Linked DNA regions of Homo sapiens: regions 1, 2, 3 and 5 are each linked to region 4. The links are contacts of gene promoters, found by promoter capture Hi-C in blood cells and fetal thymus (Javierre and others, 2016). All regions are on one chromosome and are shown on one strand. Each heading gives the region's core, a stretch centred on a gene start or on the middle of the fragment in contact. The rest is flanking DNA. Distances are from core to core; before and after follow the strand shown. Region 1 has its middle 40 kb from the start of HS3ST1. Region 2 has its middle 20 kb from the start of MIR572. Region 3 overlaps HS3ST1 (heparan sulfate-glucosamine 3-sulfotransferase 1). Region 4 holds the start of CLNK (cytokine dependent hematopoietic cell linker). Region 5 has its middle 61 kb from the start of HS3ST1.

The links. The method cuts DNA at HindIII sites, captures the fragments that hold promoters and counts their contacts. A CHiCAGO score of 5 or more calls a contact.
Region 1: a contact is called between a fragment that was not itself captured here and the fragment with the promoter of CLNK in region 4, in 2 of 17 cell types (total B cells and naive B cells). The highest score is 11.2, in total B cells.
Region 2: a contact is called between a fragment that was not itself captured here and the fragment with the promoter of CLNK in region 4, in 1 of 17 cell types (total B cells). The highest score is 5.7, in total B cells.
Region 3: a contact is called between a fragment that was not itself captured here and the fragment with the promoter of CLNK in region 4, in 2 of 17 cell types (total B cells and naive B cells). The highest score is 9.9, in total B cells.
Region 5: a fragment that was not itself captured here is called in contact with the fragment with the promoter of CLNK in region 4 in 1 of 17 cell types (naive B cells); the score reaches 5.8 in naive B cells.

The regions. Positions count from the first base shown.
Region 1 is chr4:11,467,745-11,470,523 of GRCh38, reverse strand. No RefSeq gene overlaps it. Among named protein-coding and RNA genes, the nearest start is that of HS3ST1, 40 kb to the right of the region's middle. RefSeq lists an enhancer at 153-342. The HindIII fragment of the contact is 739 bases long and covers 968-1,706 here.
Region 2 is chr4:11,387,514-11,390,213 of GRCh38, reverse strand. No RefSeq gene overlaps it. Among named protein-coding and RNA genes, the nearest start is that of MIR572, 20 kb to the right of the region's middle. The HindIII fragment of the contact is 2,677 bases long and covers 25-2,700 here.
Region 3 is chr4:11,405,005-11,407,753 of GRCh38, reverse strand. The region is part of intron 1 of HS3ST1 (heparan sulfate-glucosamine 3-sulfotransferase 1); the gene reads left to right. Among named protein-coding and RNA genes, the nearest start is that of HS3ST1, 23 kb to the left of the region's middle. The HindIII fragment of the contact is 1,920 bases long and covers 504-2,423 here.
Region 4 is chr4:10,683,339-10,686,040 of GRCh38, reverse strand. It overlaps CLNK (cytokine dependent hematopoietic cell linker), which reads left to right and starts at 1,273. Exons shown (of 19, transcript NM_052964.4): 1 at 1,273-1,373. The HindIII fragment of the contact is 1,243 bases long and covers 1,107-2,349 here.
Region 5 is chr4:11,488,848-11,491,547 of GRCh38, reverse strand. No RefSeq gene overlaps it. Among named protein-coding and RNA genes, the nearest start is that of HS3ST1, 61 kb to the right of the region's middle. The HindIII fragment of the contact is 3,384 bases long and covers 1-2,700 here.

The DNA of each region.
Region 1 (2,779 bases), core at 88-2,587, 780 kb before region 4:
TCTTGGTTTTACTCAGTGCTTTTCTTACATGGTCTCATTGCATTCACAGAGCAGTGTTACAGAAGGTTAGAGACCCTTGGAGATAAAACATGTAGGGATTTCCACTCTTTTTGGTGATGCCCCAAGAACCTGGGAAGGAGTGTCAGAGTCTGCCCTCTGGGGATGGGGGCTCCCTCCAGGGGCGGGAAGCCCATCTGGCTCATCTCTCTGCCCTTGGCTCAGCTGACCATGCAACTGCAGCTGCTTGCTTGGGCTTGTTTCATGCATGACAGTTTCAGTTACCTTTCACTTGAGAAATAGATCTCCCTGCTAAAAGAAAAAAAAAAAAAGAAAGAAAGAAAATGTTTGAAGACTACTGATCAGTTTCAATACCTTCATACTGTCCATAAAAACACACAGGCCCGTGTTGCACTGGCCGTCCCTTCGCATCTCACTCTCAGCGCCTCAGTGAGCTTTCTCAGCTGTGCTACGACAATGAGCATTTGCAGACCTCTTTTCCATCTTTCAAATTGTTGGCATCTCTCAACTATTCACATTGGTGGATTAATATGTTAAATACCTTTCATTGTTATTCTAGTGGAGTTTAAGGAGGAAGCAGCAATAGAATATGTATATGTATATACATATACATATACATATACATATACATACATATACACGCACACAGAAAGAGACAGAGAGGAGGGTTTTACCTTAGTCAGGGACTCCTCTCATTGCCTGAAATATTCTTCAGAGACTTGGAGCTCCAAGGTCTTGAGGAAGGCACCACAGTGAGTGGTGGAGTCGAAAACTGGAGGATTTGGTTGAATATTTCTATCAGTAGCACCTGGACTCTTTCCTTTCCCCTGCCAACCAAACATCCAAGCACCTGTCCTTTCTACTATGTCAAGAAAAGGGATTTTGTTTTGTGGAGACTTGAAACAGGAATTCTCTACCCTACTTAGAAAGAATAAGATTAAGTAAAGCTTCAATATCCCAAGGGAAATAAAGAAGCTATTGAAAATAAAAAAATAGAACAAAATACCATTAAAAGCATAATTAGAGAAGAGCATTAACACTTCTCTCCTTAAGGAAACATTGTTAACTGTTTTATAATTTGTATACCTTTTTTCCCAACAAAAAGTGTGCAATTGTTGTTAATAATAAAAGACTTTTGGTCATGATAATTAAAAAACAAAAAAGTAAAACAAACAAAAAAACCACAGGCCCAGAAAGGGACAATCACTTGCCTAAAATCACAGATCCACTTAGTACTTAAAGGCAAAGAAGGAACTAAGTGTTAGTCTTGGGTATCACATCAGTTTCTACTCCAGGACATGCAATTGCGGTACCTGGCTCAGGTGACCACAGTGAATGTAAATACCCAATGATTGGCCCAAGAGGAAAGGAAAACAATTTAAAAAATTCCTGACAGCTGCATTTCTGGAATGTCCCCACTCCTTCCTCATGCACCTGTTGCTGCCTGAACTTCTGACACTGAGTGGTTACCGGAGGCCTGGCGTCTCCTTAGAGCACTGCCACTGGCGCTGATGAACCAACTGAGGCAGACACTTTTACCTCCCTGAGCCTCACTTTTCTCCACCAGAAACTGGTTTAGGGGACAATAGCTTAGTACTGTCTCTTCTGGCTTCTATGTTCTTCTGGTTAAGAAAAAACTAACAACATTTCCCCCTGTCCTGACTTCCCAAAAGATTGAACATGAAGCTTCACTGAAATCCTGGATGGAAACATATTATTTCCAATGTAAAATGATAAAGCCTGGTCATGTGCAAGTTGCTCCCAGCTGCTGTGCCAGGGAGAGAGGGGAGGCATGCAATCAGCTTCCAGATAAAGGAGACAAGCTGTAGTGCTCAGGGCCCAACTGAGGAACATGTAAAGAGGGATTATATATATAATAAGTATCTACCTCTCTCTATATAAAGATATATATACATATATACATATATATATATATACGTATATATATATATATACATATATATATACGTATATATATATATATATATATATACGTATATATATATATACATATATATATATACGTATATATATATATATATATAGAGAGAGAGAGAGAGAGAGAGAGAGAGAGAGAGAGAAAGCATTGTTCTCTCTATAGAAAAGAAAGATTTTTCTGTAGAAGATAGATAGTTATCCCCTGAGAACCAGGAAAGCTGATGATACAATTCACAGAAGTCAAAAAAGTCCCCAGGCTGCATGAAGTTCCTTTGAAAAGGCAGGGTTGGCTTTCCCTGGTCTATGTAAGCCCCTTCCTGTAGGTAATGGCAGGTCCGGAGACACACCCCTGGAGGCTCTCTGAGTGCCACCTGGCAGTGCTGGCACAAGTGGGGGAAGCCAGGGAGTTGGTGAGGTGGGGTGCGGGGATGGCAGCTGGCTCAGCAGCTCCAAGAGTGCTATAGGGTCTCAGTTCTGAAATTATTCACAAGTACTCAGCAGACTCAGTGCACTTTAAAAGTCACTTTTTTTTTTCTCTCACAGAGAAAAAGGATGTTGTCTTATGGCTTCCTCACCTGTGACTTCTTGGAATTTTTTTTTTTTTTTTTGGAGATGGAGTCTTGCTCTGTTGCCCAGGCTGGATCCCGGCTCACTGAAACCTCTGCCTCCTGGGTTTAAGCAATTATCCTGCCTCAGCCTCCCAAGTACCTGGGATTGCAGGCATACACTACCACACCCAGCTAATTTTTGTATTTTTTTAGTAGAGACGGGGTTTCACCATGTTGGCCAGGCTGGCCTCGAACTCTTGACCTCAAGTGATCTG
Region 2 (2,700 bases), core at 114-2,613, 700 kb before region 4:
GGGAGATTAATGTAAGTGTAAGCTTTCAGGATATTAGTGTTCATTATACAAATGTAAGTTATCATTATTATAAGTCCTTGGGCTTGCTATGTAATTTCAACTATTTTGACCTAAGGAATGTGGCCAGTTCACTCCTCTTTTGATCCCATGTGATGGTGATTAAGTGATTTTGCATAAATCAATTTATTCTACAAGTAGAATCCAGGCGTGCACACTATGTTGCTTCCTCTGAATGTTTTTATGGCTCAACCAAACCATGTGAAGAAAAGATACACTTAGAACAAATTACAGGCTGGAGTCAGCTTGGAAAACTTTGTGTTATATGAAAGCACAAACCCTGACAGACCTGCAAAACCTCTTAGACAATTCATCAGACATAAAAGACTATTGCTGAGACATTTAACACTGGATATTAAAAGCTGTTCGCAGCACTCAAAAGACAATATATGGCAGACTCTATTTCTACTTTCTTTAATTTGGAAGTTCTATCTTTAGTAGCAATTTACATTTTCCACACAATTAAAGACTGTACCTATTTCTGATATGCACTTCAAGTATCCAATTCGTCTGTGATTTACATTTTCTTCTCTGTTTATCTGTTTATTTCCCTCTCAGTTAGAAAACGAGGTTTTAAATTTTGGCATCATCACTTAAAATCTGGGTAATGCTGGGCAAATTTGATTAACCATTCAAGAGGGTCAGTTGGCTGATATGTTAAATGGGAGTATGATTTTGTTTCAGGAATTGTTGTGGCTCTTGAAGGCTATGAGCATAGCCAGGCATGCAGTAGATATTCAACACATACATATTCATTGATCTTTTAATACACTTTTTGTTGGTGGATTCAAAGGGTCTGTAAATAGGAATTCACTTGTGACAATGGAACAGCCCTTCAGATATCATTGTACCATCATGAATGTCAAGGCCAATACATCTAAAAATCAATGAAATTTTATTGTGCTTCTAATGGTAACCATTTACATAAGTCCAAGCCATGGGCAAATGTGATATAGTGGTATAGTAAGAACTATGTACAAATGCTCCTTGACTTACAATGGAGTTATATCCCAATAAATCTGATTTATTGAAATATCTTGATAAGTTGAAAATACTGTAAATCAAAAATGCATTTAATATGCTAATCTATTTAACATCATAGATAAGCCTAGCCTACCTTAAACATGCACAGAACACTTACATTAACTTAAAGTTGGGCAAAATAACCTACCACAAAGCCTATTTTAGAATGAAATGTTGAATATCTCATGTCATTTATTGAATATTGTACTGAAAGTGAAAAACAGAATGGTTGTATGAGTACCCACCACTAGCACATACAGCTGAAAGCACACTGGGCCTGAAATATGTTTGAAGAATTGAACTAAAATTAATTTTTGAATGATGGGGGTGCTACAGCCACAGGGTCATCAATTTCTCTCTCTTCCAGTGAGGCTTAAGAAGAGCCGATAGAAGGCACTGGAACACGGACACTTGTTTATGGGTCAGCAGCAATAGTGTTCTTCAGGACGATACCAAGTGTCAGTTTAGCCCAGTGAGCACGTGGCTGAATGGGAACTACTGCTCGCTGCCACTGCTCAGCCTTGCTAGAGAGTGTCTTACTGAATATCACTAGACCAGGAAGATATCAAAATTCAAAATTGGAAATATGGTTTCTACTGAATTTGTATTGCTTCTGCTACCATCACAAAGTCAGAAAATAGTAAGCCAAATCACTGTAAGCTGAGAACCATCCCTATGTTGGTCTTCACCTTGTTCTTGACATACAACTTCTAAAACTCTTGGAATTTCCTAAGGGATAAAAGCAATAAAGCACAGAAAGGAGCCTTTTGTTATTCACAACAGGCCGCTTTCCACCACACCTGAGTTAACATTGATGAGATGACTTTTTTTTTTTTTTTTTTTTTTTTTTTTTGAGACGGAGTCTCGCTCTGTCGCCCAGGCCGGACTGCGGACTGCAGTGGCGCAATCTCGGCTCACTGCAAGCTCCGCTTCCCGGGTTCACGCCATTCTCCTGCCTCAGCCTCCCGAGTAGCTGGGACTACAGGCGCCCGCCACCGCGCCCGGCTAATTTTTTGTATTTTTAGTAGAGACGGGGTTTCACCTTGTTAGCCAGGATGGTCTCGATCTCCTGACCTCATGATCCACCCGCCTCGGCCTCCCAAAGTGCTGGAATTACAGGCGTGAGCCACCGCGCCCGGCCGATGAGATGACTTTTGTAAAACTCCTGGATAACCACAGGATGGGAGGTGGTTGCCAGGGGAAACAACCACATGATTAAAAGGTCTGAGCTTTCAGCCCTAGCTGCCACACTCCCTCACTTCTGATCTCCCTGAAGGAAGCAGGTGAAGGGGGGCTGAAGATTGAGTTGATCACCGATGGTCAATGATTTAATCAGCCATACCTACTTAATGGTGTGACCATAAAAACCCAAACGGACAGAGTTCAGAGTTTCCAAGTTGATGAACATTTGAGGGTGCTGGGAGGATAGCAAGCCCAGAGAGGCCATGGACGCTCTGCACTCCTTCATTCTGCATCATCCCATGGCAGAAGGTGGAAGAGCAAGGGAGGGTGAGAGCAAGAGAGCAAAATATGCTGAACTCACTTTTAAAAGAAACCCACTCTTGTGACAGCTATTTCACTCCCTTGATAATGACATTAATCCATTCCTTCAGGCCAAGC
Region 3 (2,749 bases), core at 214-2,713, 720 kb before region 4:
TGCATGTTTGGAAAGCACTATGCCTGATGACTGTAACTTGCAGCCACAAGTCCCTCCCAGGAGGAAATCTTTAGTTACCTCTCATGCGAATTTTTTATCCAGATCCTTGGGCCATAATCCTTCACCTGATCTGGACAATAATGTTGTGTGGGTTGACTTCAGACCACCTATGGGACAGGTTGCATTTATCATTCTCATTTTATCAAGGAGCACTTAGAGGCTCACAAATAACACCAAGATGGGAATCCTTATCCCAGTGACTACACCAAGCTGCCTCCCTTGGCTTGCCAAAGCATCTCCTTCCTTCAATTTCAGAGAATTCAATTTATTATCCAGTTAAACGTTTGTAAATATGGCACCTCTCAGACATGCAGAGGATTCAAGGAAGCACAGAAGGCTAGAGGAGGAGATATTCGAATAGTCCTCCTCTTTTTCAAGGAAAAAGTGGGGCCAATTACTGTAACTTATCCCCCACTGCATAGTAAATGTGGTCCAAGGAAGCTTATTAACATTATGTGGCCTGACTTACGGTCCTTTCTACCCTAAACTCTTTTCACCCCATCCCACCTCACAGCAATTACCATAAGGAAATCCAAACAAAAGTGAATGTCAACATTTGTTGAAGATTGACATGTATAGGCAATTTCAAGAAAATAAATATTTATGTAGGTCTTGAAATATCACTGTCCTCTCATAGGCTGACAGGCACAAACTAAACGTATTTCCAATTTCATTGTTTCTAAAATGACCTGCCAAGGATGAAAATCTGACACCACTGTGAGGTGCTCTTCCATAGCTATGCAAAGATGAAAGTGAAGACATGTTTCGTTCTTAACAATGAAAAAATAATCTTATACTTTTGATTGCCCAGAAGTTTGGTAGATTAAAAAAAAAAAAGACAGTTTTGTTGTTCAACCTGTGTTTCTCATGTTTCAGTACGTTCCAGAAAATTAAATCACTCAACACCATGGGATTCTTGGAAAGAAGCAGTTCTCGCATAACAGTATAATAAATCTCACACTTCTATCTCATTGTGGTTTTAAGTAAGCTCTCCCTTGCCTGGAATGCACTCCCCACTGCCCAAGGGGAAGCATCACCATTCAAAGGGGACAAAAGCACACCGTGGGCTTTGAGGATGGCCAGTGGAATATTTTAGTTTTGATATTTCCTGGTTCTGTGACCTTGAGGAGGTCATTTAACCTTAACAGCATGTATCCATTTCTGTCATGGCAGATATGAATATGAAAGGCAGGCCATTAACATTTGTTGAATAACTGTGTGCCAGACACTGTGCCGTGTATTTGGCATGGGTCATCTTATTTAATTATGATGACACCCCTATCAAGTAGATTTAAGCTCATATTTGCAGAGGGGAATGTGGAGACCCAGAGAGGTTAGACATTTACTGAGGTCAGTTAGCAGTAAGAATTCTAGCTTGGATTTACCTGATTGCAAAAGATTCTTTGCTCATCTACTACTCCCCACCACCTTTTTATTGCTTAAAAATATAAAATAAAATGAGAACAACCACCTCTTGTATTGTTGCAAGTATTAGAAGAAATAATTTATACCCAAGTGCTTACCACCTGGCACCCAGTGAGTGCTCAGCAGGTAATCTCTTTCCTTCTAACCCTTTTGTTAAATCCCATAAGTGAATTGTGGTTGTATGCTTTGATCATCCCTGCTACCCTAGAGGAGATTCCTGCCTGTGACAGTGTGTCACCATCTCTCATTGAGGGGCTGTGAAGGTGTCCTGCAGACAGACAGATGGCAGGCATCGCTGTTCCAGATTCATTAAATGTACCTCTTGTGAAATATCCTAGTTATTTCATTTCATCTATGAATATGTTCCAGTAGTGGGACTGAGAGAATATATTACAGTTAATTACATTTGAAATCTAGGTCATGATGTGAATTATGTAATAAGGAGACATAAGGAGAAAATGAAAATATTTTTGAAGGGTTATTTCATTGCTTCCCCTCTTTTTTAATCCAAATATTTTCTAGGCTCTCAGGTGATGTCGCCCAATCACGATTAGAAATGCTGAGTCCCCCTTTCAACATCTGGTTTCTGCTTGACTCTCTAGAGACAGAAGTTTCAAACCCTTAAAGTTTCTCTTCCTACTGTGTTAAAATATGTTCCCAGTACCTTCCAGCTATTTGCCTGTCTACTGCATTTGACAAGTTCATTCAGCAAACAAAATGTCTAGTATGTGCTATATACCAGAAATCATGCCAGGCCCGAGGGGACAGAGTAGAGCAAGGCAAGACCTCCATTTGCAGGAAAGGCCTCCTTGGAAAGGAGTTTAGATTTAATTCCAAGTGCAAGGGAAGCCTCCATCTGGAAGATTCTGTGGAATCTCCCTTGGGTTTCCCATGCCTGGCATGTGGCTACTGTCTTCACAGTGGGACTCGAGGAAGCTTACTGTTGCTGATAGGAAGGACCTTAATCTTTTCAATTCATGAAACTCAGGCCTTGGGTTTTCACCATAACACCCAGAAAACAGCCTCCCTGATAAAGGGAAGTAAATGGAGGGGTAGCTGGGTCTCCCTTTGGGACCTATTAACCCATCGGAGGTTCATTTTGCCCATCTTAGCAAGTCTGGGCCTTCACAGAAATTCTGTCCTTCATCAAAGAATTGGTGCAAGGCACAACTATTCAACAGGACCAAAGAAGTAGAGCCAAGTTCATTAATAACTTGCTCACTAACTCCAGACATTGCCAAGAAAAGTGAAAGTGACAGTGAAG
Region 4 (2,702 bases), core at 24-2,523:
CAATTTGACCTTCTGTTTTGTTAGCCACTCAGGGCTCAGTCCTTTGTTATGAAAACCCCAGAAAATTAATATGGGTCCAGACCAAAAGAAGTGAGCAAGTGACACACACAATTATGAACTAAATAAAGTGGTTACTGCTTTAAGCCCCTAATGCAGCAAAAGCTAATTAATAAAGTGGTTAAACTACTCGAGTCTCCCTAGTCTTCAGTTTTCACAATTACAAAATGGGATTTTACATATGTTCCTTACATGGTTATTAGTAAGATTAAGGAGGATAATGCTTGCAAGTTGCTTAGCAATGTAACTGACTCACAATTAGCATTCAAAGAGTGCTTATTTTCATGTTTTCCTTGGGGTGTCTGTTAAGTCAAAACCAGAGTTATTTACCCAAGAAAATATAAACTTCTACCTTTGAATTTATTGTAAATAATGTTGGAGTTTGTTATGGAATTCAACATCAATTTATATAAAACTAGAATGTCAAGTCTCCAGAAGAGGAAACAGGCACTCGGCAAGATCAGCTTAAATGGACCAAGATTAAGGCCGAAAGAAAATGTATTAAGCAACTGATATGTGCCCAAACATTACTGCATGCCTTTATTTACAATATTTTGTTTATTTATTGAAATACTTCTAAAATATAAATATTATCCTTCCATCACAATTGAGGAAATATCATTTCCTCAATGAAGGAAATATAATCCTCAATTATCCCTCATTTTTTAAAAAAGTTTCTAAAATACAAATATTATTATCACTCAAACTACTTGAGAAATAAACTTCAAAGTGCCCAAGATCCTATAGCTAATAATTAATACAGCAAGAATAAGAGGCAGGCATTTCTCCTTTAGTTCCCAGGTTCTTTCCTTAACACCTGGTCCATGTGTCTGGGATGGTCTCAGGAAGCCATTGCAAAATTAAGCCAAAAGATGATAGTTAATGTCCACTATTCATATAAAGTGAGACTCGCAAAACCCACCTTCCATGCTTGAGTGTTGCCCAGCAGTTCCTTTTATTGTGTTCTGGTAACTATGAAGTGCCACATAAGGACACCGTGTGTCTTTAAAAACACCCTTTGCATTGGAAGATTTCAGCCTCTGAAAGCTTCACGTATTGCACTCCAGCCTAAGAAGAGGAAGTCCTGCCAGCCCTCAGGTCAGACCTCTCAGGTCTGTGGCTGCATTTCACAGGAAACCAAGTCTAAAACGGACCTATCAGGAGGTTTTCTGCTGAAGGGCACTGCTTAGCATCGAGAAGAATTCAACCCACCGCCTTACTAATTTCCAGTGCCCCAAGGTCTCTGCACTGCCGCCCCTCCTCACAGGAGACGGACACCTCAGCCTAGATCCCTTGGTGCTCTCCACGCTGTTCAGGTAAACTCATTAGGCCAGTTCTTCTGAGTGAGGATCTCATGGTCATCTCCTTGTCATAAATGATCATCAGGAAAGACCTGAGCAGCAAGTAAAAATGTGTTTCTAAAGTGGAAGTCTGGGCCTTATATATAGCATCAAAGGAGCAAGAAGAAAGCCCTTAACTCAATTGTTAAAGATCCTTTCATTCTTTTGGGAGAAAGAATCAGGATACCTACCCACAGAAAATTAAAAGACTAAATGTTTTCAATCTTCTTTTCCTGGAGCTTGGACTCCCCGACTGTTTGCAACTGAAATCTAAAGACCAGGCCCCATGGCTGGCTTTCCTGGCTGACCTTCATTAAGTAAGCCCTCTAGAAAGAAAGCCTCCATTCAAAGTAGGTCATTCAAAGTATAAGTTAACTCCTGGAGCCCTGTGGAAATATATTTTTAACATTTTCTAAAGTAATACGATTTTCTTTCTGCTTTGGTGTAGAGGAGACTTAGACTTTGGAATCACGCAGACATCCTTCCACTCACAAGAGTAAGGAGCTCAAAAGTGAGGTTAAAGTTGGGGTTAAATTCTTACTCTTGAAAAGTGCCGGGAGTCATCTCTACCAGGCTTTTATTGGATAAAGCAAACAAACTGGAATGAGACAGAAAAGAAAATAACTATCATCAAAATATGGATACTTTGATTTTAAAAGGTGTCGATATGCCTGAACTTTTTATCAATACTGTTTTTATTACTTTACACCAGTGTTACTCATTTGGCTTCTCTGTTATGAGTATTACTTGTCTATTACCTACATGGCTATTTCTCTGGCTGTCTCTGTCTATACTGTGGCGCAGCTCCTCAATAGTGTTGTTCTTTGGATTTCCAGGGGCCTCCCAAACCACCAGGAATAATCATTTCAAATATCAAGAAGACGATGGTAGAGCTGGTTAATTGAAGGCCTACCAGAGAAATGACAGCGCTTCAGAAATCCTCTAAGAAGCTTAAGATACAGTATGCCCTAGAGAAGTAGGAATGGCAACTGGCATTTACTTACCTTCAGCTCCTGCTGACCTAGAGAGCTGGCTATTACTTTCCCTGGTTTACAGGTGAAGAACTTGAGTTCTCTAAGTAATATGTGCAAGGTTGTTCAGTCACTAATGTCAGTAACAGAATTCAGAAGGAAACTGATTTTCCTGGCTGACTGATTGGAATGGTGAACAGTGTTAGTTTGCAGTTTCACAGAGCTCATCCCTAAACTCACTCCTGGGTGGTCTCTGACACCAACCATCTAAATGGTAGTATTTCTTTGTTATTCCCAACAAGCCCTCTCAGATGACTGTATAGGCAAGACCATT
Region 5 (2,700 bases), core at 195-2,694, 810 kb before region 4:
AACCCTGTCTCCACTAAAAACACAAAAATTAGCTGGGCATGGTGGTGGATGCCTGTAATCCCAGCTACTTGGGAGGCTGACACAGAAGAATTGCTTGAACCTGGGAGGTGGAGGTTGCCGTGAGCTGAGATGGCACCACTGCACTTCAGCCTGGGTGACAAGGAAAGACCCCAAGTCAAAAAAAAAAAAAAAAAAAAATAGAACACTAATGATAAAACAAAGAACCTACAGTCTTATGGAGAGGTTAGGGTATCTTCAAATACATCAGGAACACTGGATGCCAGAAAACAACAGAGAAAGGATTTCCAAGATGTAAGGGACAAACAGTTTCCAACCCAGAATTTTATACACAGCCAAATTGTCAGGGAAGATAAGAATGAAGTTTATTTCTCACATACACTCTTAGGAAGTTCCTTGAGAATGTACTCCAGCATACACGAAAATAAAAAAAAAAAGATGACATGACCACCAGAAAGTGGTGAGATCAATACAGGGCAGTAGAAACAGGAAGTCTAGAGAATGTTGTTAATGAAGCCATTTTACAGGGCAAATAATCTGTATTGGGTTAAAAGAATGAAAAGAATGATCACCCCCTAAAAAGGGATAAATCAGAACAGATAGTAAGGTTGGAAATGTAGAAACAAGAGGCATAAGTAGGCTGGGCGCAGTGGCTCTGGCCTGTAAACCCAGCACTTTGGGAGGCTGAGGCAGGAGGATCACTTGAGGTCAGGAGTTTGAGACCAGCCTGGCCAAGACGGCAAAACACCATCTCTAATAAAAATAGACACACACACACACACACACACACACACACACACACACACAAAAATAGCCAGGCGTGATGGTGAGCAGCTGTAATCCCAACAACCCAGGAGGCTGAGGTACAAGAATTGTCTCAACCCTGGGAGACAGAGGTTGCAGTGAGCCGAGATTGCGCCACTGCCCTCCAGCCTGGGTGACAGAGCAAGACTCTCTCAAAAAAAAAAAGAAAAAAGAAGAAGAAGAAGATGAGGAGGAATAAGATGAAAGCACAATTTGCAAAAAAATTTAAGAAGAGAAAAGAAAACCTTCCAGGGAAACAAAACTGTATAAGAAAACTGTGATTCATATTTGAAGCCATCATGAAACATTGGAAGAGAAACTCAGCAGGCTTCGGGAAGGACATTCCAGTGGGTTTCAAGCACACCTTCACATCTATATCTGTGCATAATGTCGGGGGACAGGGCAGGATCTAAACACAGAACGATGCTGATGTCACTACATGCAAATCACACAGATTCGCTGAGAAAACTCACTGAAGTTGAAAATGAAACAGCAGAATTATATATTTGTGAAAAAAAATCAAATTTGAGAATTTGGTGTAAAGAATTGATCGGATGTGTAAGAGTTAATGTTTTCCTTTTATTATCAAAATGTAAACCTGGCACATAAAATTAACAAGTAATTGTGTGGAATTAAAACAGATTTGTTGGATATGATATAAACTCTAAGCATAAACATTTACCTGTTTCCCCACTATCTTCATCATTCAAGTGAAATTGTTAGCAGGAAGATATGCCAAGTTTATCCCTGGGACTGAGCTATCAGGCTCCCCAACCCTCCCTACCTCTTTATACAACACTGTACCTCCTGGTGTTACAGAGTTTGAGATGAGTGTCTTAACAGGATCTTCATTTACTGATATTACTCACTGCCAGCTGGCTCTGATTCTGTGAATACATATGTTCTTCTTAAAAAATCGCTAGCTGGGCTTCAAGGTATTATGTTGTCCTACCAGAATAAATATTATTTTAAGATCAGACGAAGGTTCTTGTTCTTTATTAAATTCCTTATTAAATATTTAGTGTTCATAAATTTGTTTAATATAGTTGCTGCCTCAGCATTCATTTTTAGGCCTGATGTAATTTATTTGAAACCCAGGCACGCCATGTCACCTCTGACCTAGTTATAATTTCCCCTCTCCTATGTGACTCTGATAGATTCTGCTTGTTCCTCATCCCAGTGATGCAAAACTCAGCATATCCACAGCTGCTGACTATGAGCAATCTAATGATGAACCTCAGAATCATGTAAATAAGTTCCTCCTTTCACATATATTCTCTTCAATTAGCCAGTCCACAACCCCGTTGGAAAAGCCTAAGGGATAACGCCAATAGACCTTAATGGGGGCATAGTCCCACAGGTTGGGTCCTGTGCTGGCCCCTGCTGGTTGAGCTTCTCACCTTCTCTGGACTTTCCATCAGCAGCCCATCAGCACCCGTAACCTCTCTGGGACATGTACAAAATATATATTTTTTCTATTTCACGCATTTTGGTTTCATTTTCTCATTGTATCTCACCTGAAACACACACTCAAACCTAACATTTCCCCTATCATGACTCTCCGAGAGAGTTGTTATCTTGACTTAGGATCACTCTCAAGAGAGAGCCCTCAAGACCAAACACCAAAATATCATTACAACACTATTCTATTGGAAAGTAAAATTCTGATTGAGTTAAGTAGTCTTGCTGGTCTATGGTACCTTTCACATACATCTGGATCAAATACATTATGTCCCTCAATCCACTTGAATAGTATGTATCCAAATATTCATCTCAGGTAAGAAAAATGGAGGTGAAATGTGCTTAAAGTTCCCCAGTTCACTTATACAGTGGTGCATTAGTCATGCAGCAATGCCTTATCAAGCATCTAACATGTGT